Regions from separate parts of the Homo sapiens genome. Here regions 2 and 3 are each linked to region 1. Evidence: promoter capture Hi-C in human tissues and cell types (Jung and others, 2019). All regions are on one chromosome and are shown on one strand. Each heading gives the region's core, a stretch centred on a gene start or on the middle of the fragment in contact. The rest is flanking DNA. Distances are from core to core; before and after follow the strand shown. Region 1 holds the start of SPINT3 (serine peptidase inhibitor, Kunitz type 3). Region 2 holds the start of WFDC8 (WAP four-disulfide core domain 8). Region 3 overlaps WFDC2 (WAP four-disulfide core domain 2).

Evidence for each region. Contacts are between HindIII fragments. The study calls those that stand out against the background at their distance.
Region 2: the fragment with the promoter of WFDC8 here is called in contact with the fragment with the promoter of SPINT3 in region 1 in 9 of the 25 tissues and cell types used here (adrenal gland, bladder, heart left ventricle and 6 more).
Region 3: a fragment that was not itself captured here is called in contact with the fragment with the promoter of SPINT3 in region 1 in 3 of the 25 tissues and cell types used here (adrenal gland, heart right ventricle and liver).

The regions. Positions count from the first base shown.
Region 1 is chr20:45,513,674-45,517,341 of GRCh38, reverse strand. It overlaps SPINT3 (serine peptidase inhibitor, Kunitz type 3), which reads left to right and starts at 1,720. Exons shown (of 2, transcript NM_006652.2): 1 at 1,720-1,809. The coding sequence starts at 1,734. All of the region lies in intron 1 of LOC107987282 (a long non-coding RNA gene), which reads right to left. The HindIII fragment of the contact is 13,872 bases long and covers 1-3,668 here.
Region 2 is chr20:45,577,277-45,580,944 of GRCh38, reverse strand. It overlaps WFDC8 (WAP four-disulfide core domain 8), which reads left to right and starts at 1,661. Exons shown (of 6, transcript NM_130896.3): 1 at 1,661-1,723. The coding sequence starts at 1,698. RefSeq lists an enhancer at 1,911-2,846. The HindIII fragment of the contact is 18,093 bases long and covers 1-3,668 here.
Region 3 is chr20:45,474,661-45,478,328 of GRCh38, reverse strand. All of the region lies in intron 2 of WFDC2 (WAP four-disulfide core domain 2), which reads right to left. Among named protein-coding and RNA genes, the nearest start is that of WFDC2, 6.7 kb to the right of the region's middle. The HindIII fragment of the contact is 2,290 bases long and covers 547-2,836 here.

The sequences.
Region 1 (3,668 bases), core at 471-2,970:
CACTGGATGGATAAAGAAAATGTGGTATGTATACACAATGGAATACTACTCAGCCTTTAAAAAGAAGGAAATCCTACCATTTGTGACAACGTGGATGAACCTGCAGGTTACGTGAAATAAGCCAGGGACAGAAAGACAAATACCAGGTGATCTCACTTACATGTGGAATCTAAAAAAGTTGAAGTCACAGAAGCAGAGAGTAGAATGGTGGATACCCGGGGCTGGGGGTGGGAAGTATTGGGAAGGTGCTGGTCAAAGGGTACAAAATTTCAGTTAGACAGACGGAATAAGTTGTAAAGACCTATTGCACAGCATGGTGACCGTAGTTAATAACATATTGTACACTTGAAAATTGCTAAGAGAGAAAATTTCTCTCTCTCTCTATATATATATACACACATATATTTCAAAACATCATATTGTACCTCATAAATATATAATGTTTCTCAACTTATGATGAGATTATAGCCTAATAAACCTAGCCTAAGTTGAAGATATCAGAAGTTGAAATGCATTTAATACACCTAACCTACCAAACATCATAGCTTAGCCTTACCTACCTTAAACTTGCTCAGAACACTTATACTAGTCTACAGTTGGGCAAAATCATCTAACACAAAGCCCCTTTTATAATGAAGTGTTGAATATCTAATGTAATTTATTGAATACTGTTCTAAAAGTGAACACAGAATGGTTGTATGGGTATTCCAAGTACTGTTTTTACTGACTGTGCATTGTGTTTGCACCATCATAAAGTCAAACACTGTAAGTCAAACCATTGTAAATTGGGGACTGCCTTTATACAATTTTTATTTCTCAATTAAAAATAAATAATAATAAATATATGATAGAATGCTTCTTGAAAAAGAATAGCTGGACCCATCACAACCTCAAATTTTAAATCTGAGGCTCACTAAATCTCCCTAAAGCATGCTGGCTTTGTCTTTCAAAAAAAATGGATCTCTAGAGAGTCAAGGAAAGGAGACAGTTGGAATGTGCTGGATTCTGGGGGTGTGTCTCTAGAGACCATGACCCTCTGAAGCAAACAAAGCTGGGCCCTCCTTCTACATGGTGCTTTTGATATTTCTATTAAAATATAATGAATCTGCTCCTCCTCCAAGTAGGTGACTGTTTCTGACTTCCAATGTGTTTGTGTGTGTTGTTGCCATAATTTCCTGGGAGCACCCAGATGGGATGGAGGCAGCATCTAATACTTTGCCTGGTGCAGTGTGGGTACTTGATGAATGTTTGTTGAATGAATGAGTGATACGAGGGCACTGAAGCAGACAGACCGGGGTCTCAGTCTTGTCTCTGAAACTTGCTGTCCATGTAACAATGGTCAAAGTAGCATAACCTCCTCTCATCTACAAAATGGGAGTGTTAGTGTTGTGGGATTCCCGTGTAGACTTAAGGGAAGCAATGTGTGAAAACTATTTTGCATGGTGCCTGGAAAAGGAAAGGTACTCAAAAATGGCTGCTGTCTTTTTATTATTGTGAAAAAGGCTTCCACCCTGAAGTGGTACTAAAGTAGCCTGGGTGGCCAGATCAGATAAGGCCAGGAGGAGAGAGGTGAAGCTGTGCTTTGGCTGAACACTCTGTTCCTGAGGCAGCCCAGCCCCATGAAAAGCCTGAGTTAAAGGTGAATGAGCTGGATGTGGGGCCAGGCTCCTCCCCTTGGTCCCTTTTCTCCCTAAAATGGCAACCCCAGGCTGAGCCACTGGCTGAGTGGCACCATGCAGCTTCAGGCCTCTCTCTCGTTTCTCCTGATTCTCACTCTCTGCCTAGAGCTTCGATCAGAACTAGCACGAGGTTGGTATGAAATGTGGGATCTCAAAGAATAGACTGGGAATCAGGCTGGGGGGCGGGGTGGTGGGGGAGGTGATGCAGCACAAACAGAGCCCATTTCTTACCTTACCGGATTGAGAGTCAATTCAGTTCAATTCACTTCATCAGACATATGTTGGGCACATAGTTATGTGCCAGGCACTGTCCTAGGTGCTGAGGTTAAAGCAAAGAGCCTGAGACCCTGCCTTTGTGAAATTAAGATGCTAATGGGAGAGAGACATACAATACCTAATACAAATGATAGATGATCAAAGTGCTATAGAAAATGAAATAAGTAAAGCAGGAAAAGGGGCCTTCAATGTCTGGGGTGGGGCTGGTGGCAGGCAAGGAGAGGTTGGGAAAAGGAGATCAGAGCCAGAATTTGAGAGTGAGGGACTTAGCCAAGTTAGATGCACTTGTCAGAAAAGGCTCCTTCCTGGACCACTTTCTCTGTGGAAGCTTGGAATCTGCAAATGGAAGTGGGGAGATGAAGTGCAGTTATAGCTAAGATAATCTGCTGGAAATGGGGATGGTAGGCAGCAGTTTCCAAGATTTTTAAGCAGCCAGTAGGATGCCCTGTATAAAAATGCATATTAGAATACACAAAAGGGTAAGAAAGAAGGTGAAAAATTATCAAAATCTTACCCTCTGGAGATTATCACTGTCAATGTGCCAGTGAACATTCTTGCATGTGCAAGCATAGTTCTCTGCATGTATGTACATGGAGCTATTAATGATAGATTCTTAGACATAAATGGAACTCTAAACCTCCCAATAACCTTATAGATGAGTGGTTCTCGAGTTTGTCCCCTAGTCTGACAGCAATAGCAGCAGCAGTATCAACTGGAAACATGCTAGTTCCCAGTCCCACCTGATCAGAAACTGTGGAGGTGGGTCTCTCTAACAAGCCTTCTAGATGATTCTGACGCATACTCAAGTTTGAAAATGTCTGCCATAAGTAAGAAGAATGTAGTGGTTTACAGTATGAGCATTCCTGGAGTCAGACACACCTGGGTTCTGGTCCAGGCTCCTCTACTTACAAACTCTGTGCCTCAGGAACATCATTTATAGCCTCTCTGAGCATCAGTTTCTTCTTCTATAAAAAAAGATTAACCATCTTTTCTGCTTTATTAATCAAATAGTCTGATGTATGTCAAGCTCTCAGTATAACTTAGCTCTTAATAGATTCTTGTAAAGCACTTAGAACAGCTTCTGTCACACTCAAAACACACACACAGGGTGTCATTATCTACTTTACATAAAAAAGAAGCAAGTCAAGTGATTTTCCTTTGGTTTAATGGAATGGAAGAGCAGAGAAGCAAGACTGAGAAAACTAAGAGCAGATGGGACTCCAGCCCCTACAGAGTCACCTGTAAGGGTCTAAGGGCCGATGATGCAGTGACTAGGATGTCTTAAGAACATGCCCCTCCACCTCCCACCTGGATTGAATAAGCTATTCTGCCTCTTCCCCATTCTCCTGCACCCTTAGCGTCAGCCTTGCAGGTAGGAGGATAAGACAGAGTCTGAACCTTTCCAAGCCCTAGGCTGCTGCCTGAAGTTCCACCATAGGTGTGATCATTCATCTGTGCATTCACTCATTTTACAACAACCAAGATGGATGGAGAACCTGCAAGCCTTTGCAGTCGAACCATGCTGGGTTTGATTCTTGGTCCTACTGCTTCCTAGCCTGACATTAGGACAGGTACTTCATTTATCTGGCCTTAGTTTCTTCACATAATGTTGGAAATTCTACTAGCTACCATGAAGAGTAAAACTGCCCACATGGTGACAGAAACATAAAAGGAGGGTACAAAGAAACTTTTAATCCTGCCCCAGAGGGGCTC
Region 2 (3,668 bases), core at 412-2,911, 64 kb before region 1:
GAAAGGAACATAGAAAAAGGATTCCTGATTCTGTCTTTGGGGTAGGAAGGGCACGTGATAAAAACTTTCATTCAAAAGGTAAAAGACAAGCCAATAAGGGTTTTAGAAGATTACCCTTGATCCTGGAAGATGTTCATAATACATATAACTGAGGAAAGACATGACTCCAGTAGAAATCAGCAAGAAAAAGTCAGAAAACCCCAGAGAACAATGAGCAAAACATTTGAAAAGAAAATCAAAGAGAGGATAGCCAAGTGGTTAATAAAGATCTAAAAAGGTGCTCAACCTCATTAGTAGTCAAGAAATTTAAATTAAGTCCACAGTGATGTATTTCCATACTCGTAGCAGGATGGTAAAAATGAAAAGATTGTGACAGTTCTACATACAGCATGGTTATGGAACAATAGGAACTCTCAACTACCAATGGCAAGGCTGTGAATTGGTACAAACTCTTTGGGAAATAATTTGGTATCAGCTTGAGAAGCTGAAGATATGCATACCCTGTAACCCATCATTCCCTATGCTGAATGTATAACCTACAAGAACACCTGCCCACGTGCTCCAGCAAATGCACACAGAGTGTTCATAGCAGCTTTATTCTTTTTTTTACATGAGTAAATTGTTTAAAATTTTTTTGACATTTAAAAACATTTATTAATTCATTTAACGTAATAAACTTATTACATGTTGATATAAATAACATTTTTATTTAGAAAATCCTAGTTTTTTATTATACTTTAAGTTCTGGGATACACGTGCAGAACGTTATTACATACATGCTATGTATACACACAGCAGCTTTATTCTTAACAGCTGCAAACTATAAACAACTCAGTAGAGATGTGTGTAGTCATACAATAGATGGCATGGCAATGAAAATTGACAAAATACAGCTACACAAAACAATGTGGATGGAATTCATTAATATAATGTTGAACACAAAAAGCCAGGCACAAAAGAATACATTCCAAGTGACTCCATTGATATAGAACAGAAGCAGACAAAAACAAAAACATATTTAGGGGAATACATATGATCTTGAAAATATGAAAAAGAAAGTCACTACCATTAGCTGCCTTTGAGAGCATAGGAAGGGGTTGTGACTGGAAAAGAATGAAAAAGGAGCAGAAAGTGTTGGAAATTTTTTACTTGATTTCAGTGATAGTTTAATGAGTGGTCACTTCGTAATAGTTCGTTAGACTGAACATTAATGTTTCATGCATATTTTTATTTTTGTGGTGTTTTTCACAATACATATTTTTACAAAAAGGAAAAGTAGCTCTTCCTTGTTTTGTCTCCTTTTCTTTACTAACTGAACTAGTCAGTCCTAAAGCCATTAGATAGGCACATTTAGCAAGGTAGGCGTTTGCCCCAAGGGGAAGGGAGCCACGGCTGGCTCCGTGTGGGCATCAGAGCTGGAACAGGTCAAGGAGGGTGTCTCTGTAGGAGGGCTGCTGGCCTGGTGTGCTGGAGCCAGGGGTAGATGAGAATGCCCAGTGAAGAGGCAAGAAGCAGCATAGCATGGAGACCAGCCTGCCCATGTTGAGAAAGGCATCCCCCTGGGGCTAGAGGGGCAGACTGGCATAGAATGAGAGCCTGAGTGGGGTGAGCAGAGTGTCCAGGCAGGGGAGCAGATGAGGGAGGAGCCTTAGAGCTGGAGCAAAGTGAGGAAGCTGTCTCCATAGGGAAGAGGCCTGATGTGGACTGTCCGAACTGAAGGAGGGTGAGGAGGGTGTCTATGGGGGTGGGTAGCCAGACATGGAGGGTCTGAGCCCAAGGAGATGAGGAGGATACATAGAAGTTAGAGTGGTCGGCTGTGGGGAGTTGGGCCAAGCATAGTGAGGAGGGGTTCCACAGAACAGAGCTGTCTTGTGTCAGGAATCAGAGCCTAAGCAGGGTGAAGAGGGCATCAATGCATCCAGCGATTCTCCTGCCTTAGCCTCCCTAGTAGCTGGGACTACAGGTGTGCGCCACCACGCTCGGCTAAGTTTTGCATTTTTAGTAGAGACGGGGTTTCACCATGTTGGCCAGGCTGGTCTCGAATGCAACCTGATATGGCTGTTGGAGCCCAAGTAGGGTAAGTTGGGCATCTTTGAGTGGCCCAGTGTGGAGGGGCAGAGCCTGAGCAAGGTAAAGTTTGATATTTTAAATTAAACAAGCATATAATATGTATCTAAACATTTTCAAAAAATTAAAACAGGAGTAGTAGTGATGGGTTATATTATTATTCACAACTATTCATTCCATCTTTCCTTTAAGAGGACACTCCTGTCCATTACCTTGCAATTTTAGAACGGCCCGTGGAAGGAAGACACATTTCTGTCTCATTGACTTTGGGTTTGCTGTCAGCTGTGCTTTGCCTATTGGAGTATGAGCAGATGTAGCATATGCATAGTGAGTTTTGCACTGTGAGTTTCTGCCAGCTCCTTTGTGCTTTCTCTCTGCCAGGAGAAGGGGCCTAATCCACATAGAGGCTGCTTCTTTTGTCTTGGTCCCACAGCCTCAAGTAGAGCCCCCACTTGGAACAAAGCAGTAGACAATTTGCCTAGGAAGTCTTTTGTTGTGGCAAGCCATGGAGAGCTCAAAGTTCTTTGTACACCAAAGTAATAAAAATACAGTTGATTCCCATTACTTGGGGGTAGTTATGTTCTGTAAAGTCACTGTGAACACCGGATTAGCAAATACTGAGCCATTGCTCCTAGGGAAAATGCAAGCCTCTGACCACACATTTTCATCATTTGATCAATACATAACCTTGTTTTTATATGTGCTTCTGTCTGAAGACACATGACAGAGATGGTAATTAGAAGGTGCACACAGAAGACTTCTGGGAAGCTGGCTACTTTCTATTTTTTAATCTGTGTGGTTAATTATTAAATAAAACTCTACATACTTTATTTATTTATTTATTTTTATTTTTATTTTTTTTGTTTTGTTTGAGAGGGAATCTCTCTCTGTCCCCCAGGCTGGAGCATAGTGGTGTGATCTCGGCTCTCTGCAACCTCCACCTTCTGGGTTCAAGGGATCCTCCTGCCTTAGCCTCCTGAGTAGCTGGGACTACAGGTGTGCACCACCACTCCAGGCTAATTTTTGTATTTTTAGTAGAGACAGGGTTTCACCGTGTTGGCCAGGCTAGTCTTGAACTCCTGACCACAGGTGATCTGCCTGCCTCAGCCTCCCAAAGTGCTGGGATTACAGGCATGAGCCACCGTGCTGGCCCTGTCTTTATTTTTTAAACATGTATATAGGCCAGGCGCGGTGGCTCATGCCTGTAATCCCAGCACTTTGGGAGGCTGAGGCAGGCGGATCACTAGGTCAGGAGATTGAGACCATCCTGGCCAACACAGTGAAACCTCATCTCTACTAAAAATACAAAAAATTAGCAGGACGTGGTGGTGGGTGCCTGTAATCCCAGCTACTCGGGAGTCTGAGGCAGGAGAATCACTTGAACCCAGAAGGCGGAGGTTGCAGCGAGCCGAGATCGCACTACTGTACTCTAGCCTGGCGACAGAGTGAGACTCCATCTCAAAAAAAAAAAAAGACACCTTATGTAATATATATTATTGTTTCATTAACATTGAATTGTGGCTGAAAGCCCTGTAACTCATGCCTGAACCAAGCTTATCTGACACAAGTAATTTCTTTGTAAGGCACATTGCAGGCCTCTT
Region 3 (3,668 bases), core at 442-2,941, 39 kb after region 1:
TCACAACCCACAGACCAAGAGATTCCTTTGGGTGCCTACACCACCAGGGCCCTGGGTTTCAAGCACAAAACTAGGTGGCCATTTGGGCAGACACTGAGCTAGCTGCAGGATTTTTTTTTCATACCCCAGTGGTGCCTGGAATGCCAGTGAGACAGAACCATTCACGCCCCTGGAAAGGGGGCTGAAGCTAGGGAGACAAGTGGTCTAGCTCAGCGGATCCCACCCCCATGGAGCCCAGCAAGCTAACATCCACTGGCTTGAAATTCTCACTGCCAGCACAGCAGTCTGAAGTTGACCTGGAACTCTCAAGCTTGGTAGGGGGAGGGGCGTCCACCATTACTGAGGCTTGAGTAGGCAGTTTTCCCCTCACAGAGTAAACAAAGCCACCAGGAAGTTCAAACTGGGCAGAGCCCAACACAGCTCGGCAAAGCCGCTGTAGCCAGACTGCCTCTCTAGATTCCTCCTCTCTGGGCAGGGCATCTCTGAAAAAAAGGCAGCAGCCCTAGTCAGGGGCTTATAGGTAAAACTCCCATCTCCCTGGGACAGAGCACCTGGGGGAAGGGGCAGCTGTGGATGTGGCTTCAGCCTGCCTGCCGGTTCTGAAGAGAGCAGCAGATCTCCCAGCACAGCATTTGAGCTCTGCTAAGGGTCAGACTGCCTCCTCAAGTGAGTCCCTGATTTCCGTGTCTCCTGACTGGGAGACACCTTCCAGCAGGGGCTGACAGACACCTCATACAGGAGAGCTCTGGCTGGCATCTGGCGGGTGCCCCTCTGGGACAAAGCTTCTAGAGGAAGGAACAGGCAGCAATCTTTGCTGTTCTGCAGCCTCTGCTGGTGATAGCCAGGCAAACAGGGTCTGGAGTGGACCTCCAGCAAACGCCAACAGACCTGCAGCTGAGGGGCCTGATTGTTAGAAGGAAAACTAACAGAAAGGAATAGCATCAACATCAACAAAAAGGACGTCCACTCAGAAGGCCCATCCAAAGATCATCAACATCAAAGACCAAAGGTAGATAAATCCACGAAGATGGGGAGAAACCAGCACAAAAAGGCTGAAAATTCCAAAAACCAGAACACCTCTTCTCCAAAGGATCACAATTCCTCGCCAGCAAGGGAACAAAACTGGACGGAGAATGAGTTTGACAAATTGACAGAAGTAGGCTTCAGAAGGTGGGTAATAACAAACTCCTCCAAGCTAAAGGAGCATGTTCTAACCCCAATGCAAGAAAGGTAAGAACCTTGAAAAAAGGTTATAGGAATTGCTAACTAGATTAACCAGTTTAGAGAAGAACATAAATGACCTGATGGAGCTGAAAAACACAGCACGAGAACGTCATGAAGCCTATACAAGTATCAATAGCCGAATTGATCAAGCAGAAGAAGGATATCAGAGATTGAAGATCAATTTAATGAAATAAAGAATGAAGATGAGATTAGAGAAAAAATAATGAAAAGGAATGAATGAACAAAGCCTCCAAAAAATATGGGACTATGTGAAAAGACCAAACCTATGTTTGATTGATGTACCTGAAAGTGATGGGGAGAATGGAACCAAGTTGGAAAACACTGTTCAGGATATTATACAGGAGAACTTCCCCAACCTAGCAAGAAAGGCCAACATTCAAATTCAGGAAATACAGAGAACACCTCAAAGATACTCCTTGAGAAGAATAACCCCAAGACACATAATCATCAGATTCACCAAGGTTGAAATGAAGAAAAAAATGTTAAGGGCACCCAGAGAGAAAGGTTGGGTTACCCACTATGGGAGGCCCTTCAGACTAACTGCAGATCTCTCTGCAGAAACCCTGCAAACCAGAAGACAGTGGGGGCCAATATTCAATATTCTTAAAGAATTTTCAACCCAGAATTTCATATCCAGCCAAAGTAAGCTTCATACATGAAGGAGAAATAAAATCCTTTATAGACAAACAAATGCTGAGGGATTTTTCTCATCAACAGGCCTGCCTTACAAGGTCTCCTGAAAGGAGCACTAAACATAGAAAGGAACAACTGGAATCAGCAACTGCAAAAACATACCAAATTGTAAAGACCATCGACACTATGAAGAAACTGCATCAACTAATAGACAAAATAACCAGCTAGCATCATAATGACAGGATCAAACTCACACATAACAATATTAACCTTAAATGTAAACAGGCTAAATGCCCCAGTTAAAAGACAAAGACTGGCAAATTGGATAAAGAGTCAAGACCCATTGGTGTGCTGTATTCAGGAGACCCATCTCAAGTGCAAAGACACATAGGCTCAAAATAAAGGGATAGAGGAATATTTACCAAGCAAATGGAAAGCAAAAAAAAATCAGGGGTTGCAATTCTATTCTCTGATAAAACAGACTTTAAACCAACAAAGATCAAAAGAGACAAAGAAGGGCATTACACAATGGTAAAGGGATCAATGCAACAAGAAGAGCTAATTATGCTAAATATATATGCACCTAATACAGGAGCACCCTGATTCATAAAGCAAGTTCTTAGAGACCTACAAAGAGACTTAGACTCCGACATAATAATAGTGGGAAACTTTAACCCCCACTGTCAATATTAGACAGATCAATGAGACGGAAAATTAACAAAGATATCCAAGACTTGAACTCAGCTCTGGACCAAGCAGACCTAATAGACATCTACAGAACTCTCCACCCCAAATCAACAGAATATACATTCTCCTCAGCACCACATCACACTTATTCTAAAACTGACCACATAATTGGAAGTAAAACACTAATTAGCAAATGCAAAAGAACGGAAATCCTAACAGTCTCTCAGACCACAGTGCCATCAAATTAGAATTCAGGATTAAGAAACTCACTCAAGACCGCATAACCTTACATGGAAACTGAACAACCTGCTCCTGAATGACTACTAGGTAAATAACAAAATCAAGGCAGAAATAAATAAGTTCTTTGAAACCAATGAGAACAAAGACATAACATACCAGAATCTCTGAGACACAGCTAAAGCAGTGCTTAGAAGGAAATTTATAGCACTAAATGCCCACAAGGGAAAGCAGGAAAGATCCAAAATTGACACCCTAACATCACAATTAAAAGAACTAGAAAAGCAAGAACAAACAAATTCAAAAGCTAGCAGAAGACAAGAAATAACTAAGATCAGAGAGAACTAAAGGAGATAGAGACATGAAAAACCCTTCAAAAAAAATCAATGAATTCACAAGCTGGGTTTTTGAAAAACATCAACAAAATAGTCTGACTGCTAGCCATACTAATAAAGAAAAGAGAGAAGAATCAAATAGACACAATAAAAAATGACAAAGGGGATATCACCACTGATCCCACAGAAATACAATCTACCATCAGAGAATACTATAAACACCTCTACGCAAATAAACTAGAAAACCTAGAAGAAATGGATAAATTCCTGGACACATACACCCTCCCAAGTCTAAACCAGGAAGAAGTCGAATCCCTGAATCGACCAATAACAAGTTCCAAAATTGAGGCAGTAATTAATAGCCTACCAACCAAAAAAAGTCTGGGACCAGACAGATTCACAGCCGAATTCCACCAGAGGTACAAAGAGGAGTTGCTGGTACCATTCCTTCTGAAACTATTCCAAACAATAGAAAAAGAGAGCCTCCTCCCTAATTCATTTTATGAGGCCAGCATCATCCTGATACTAAAA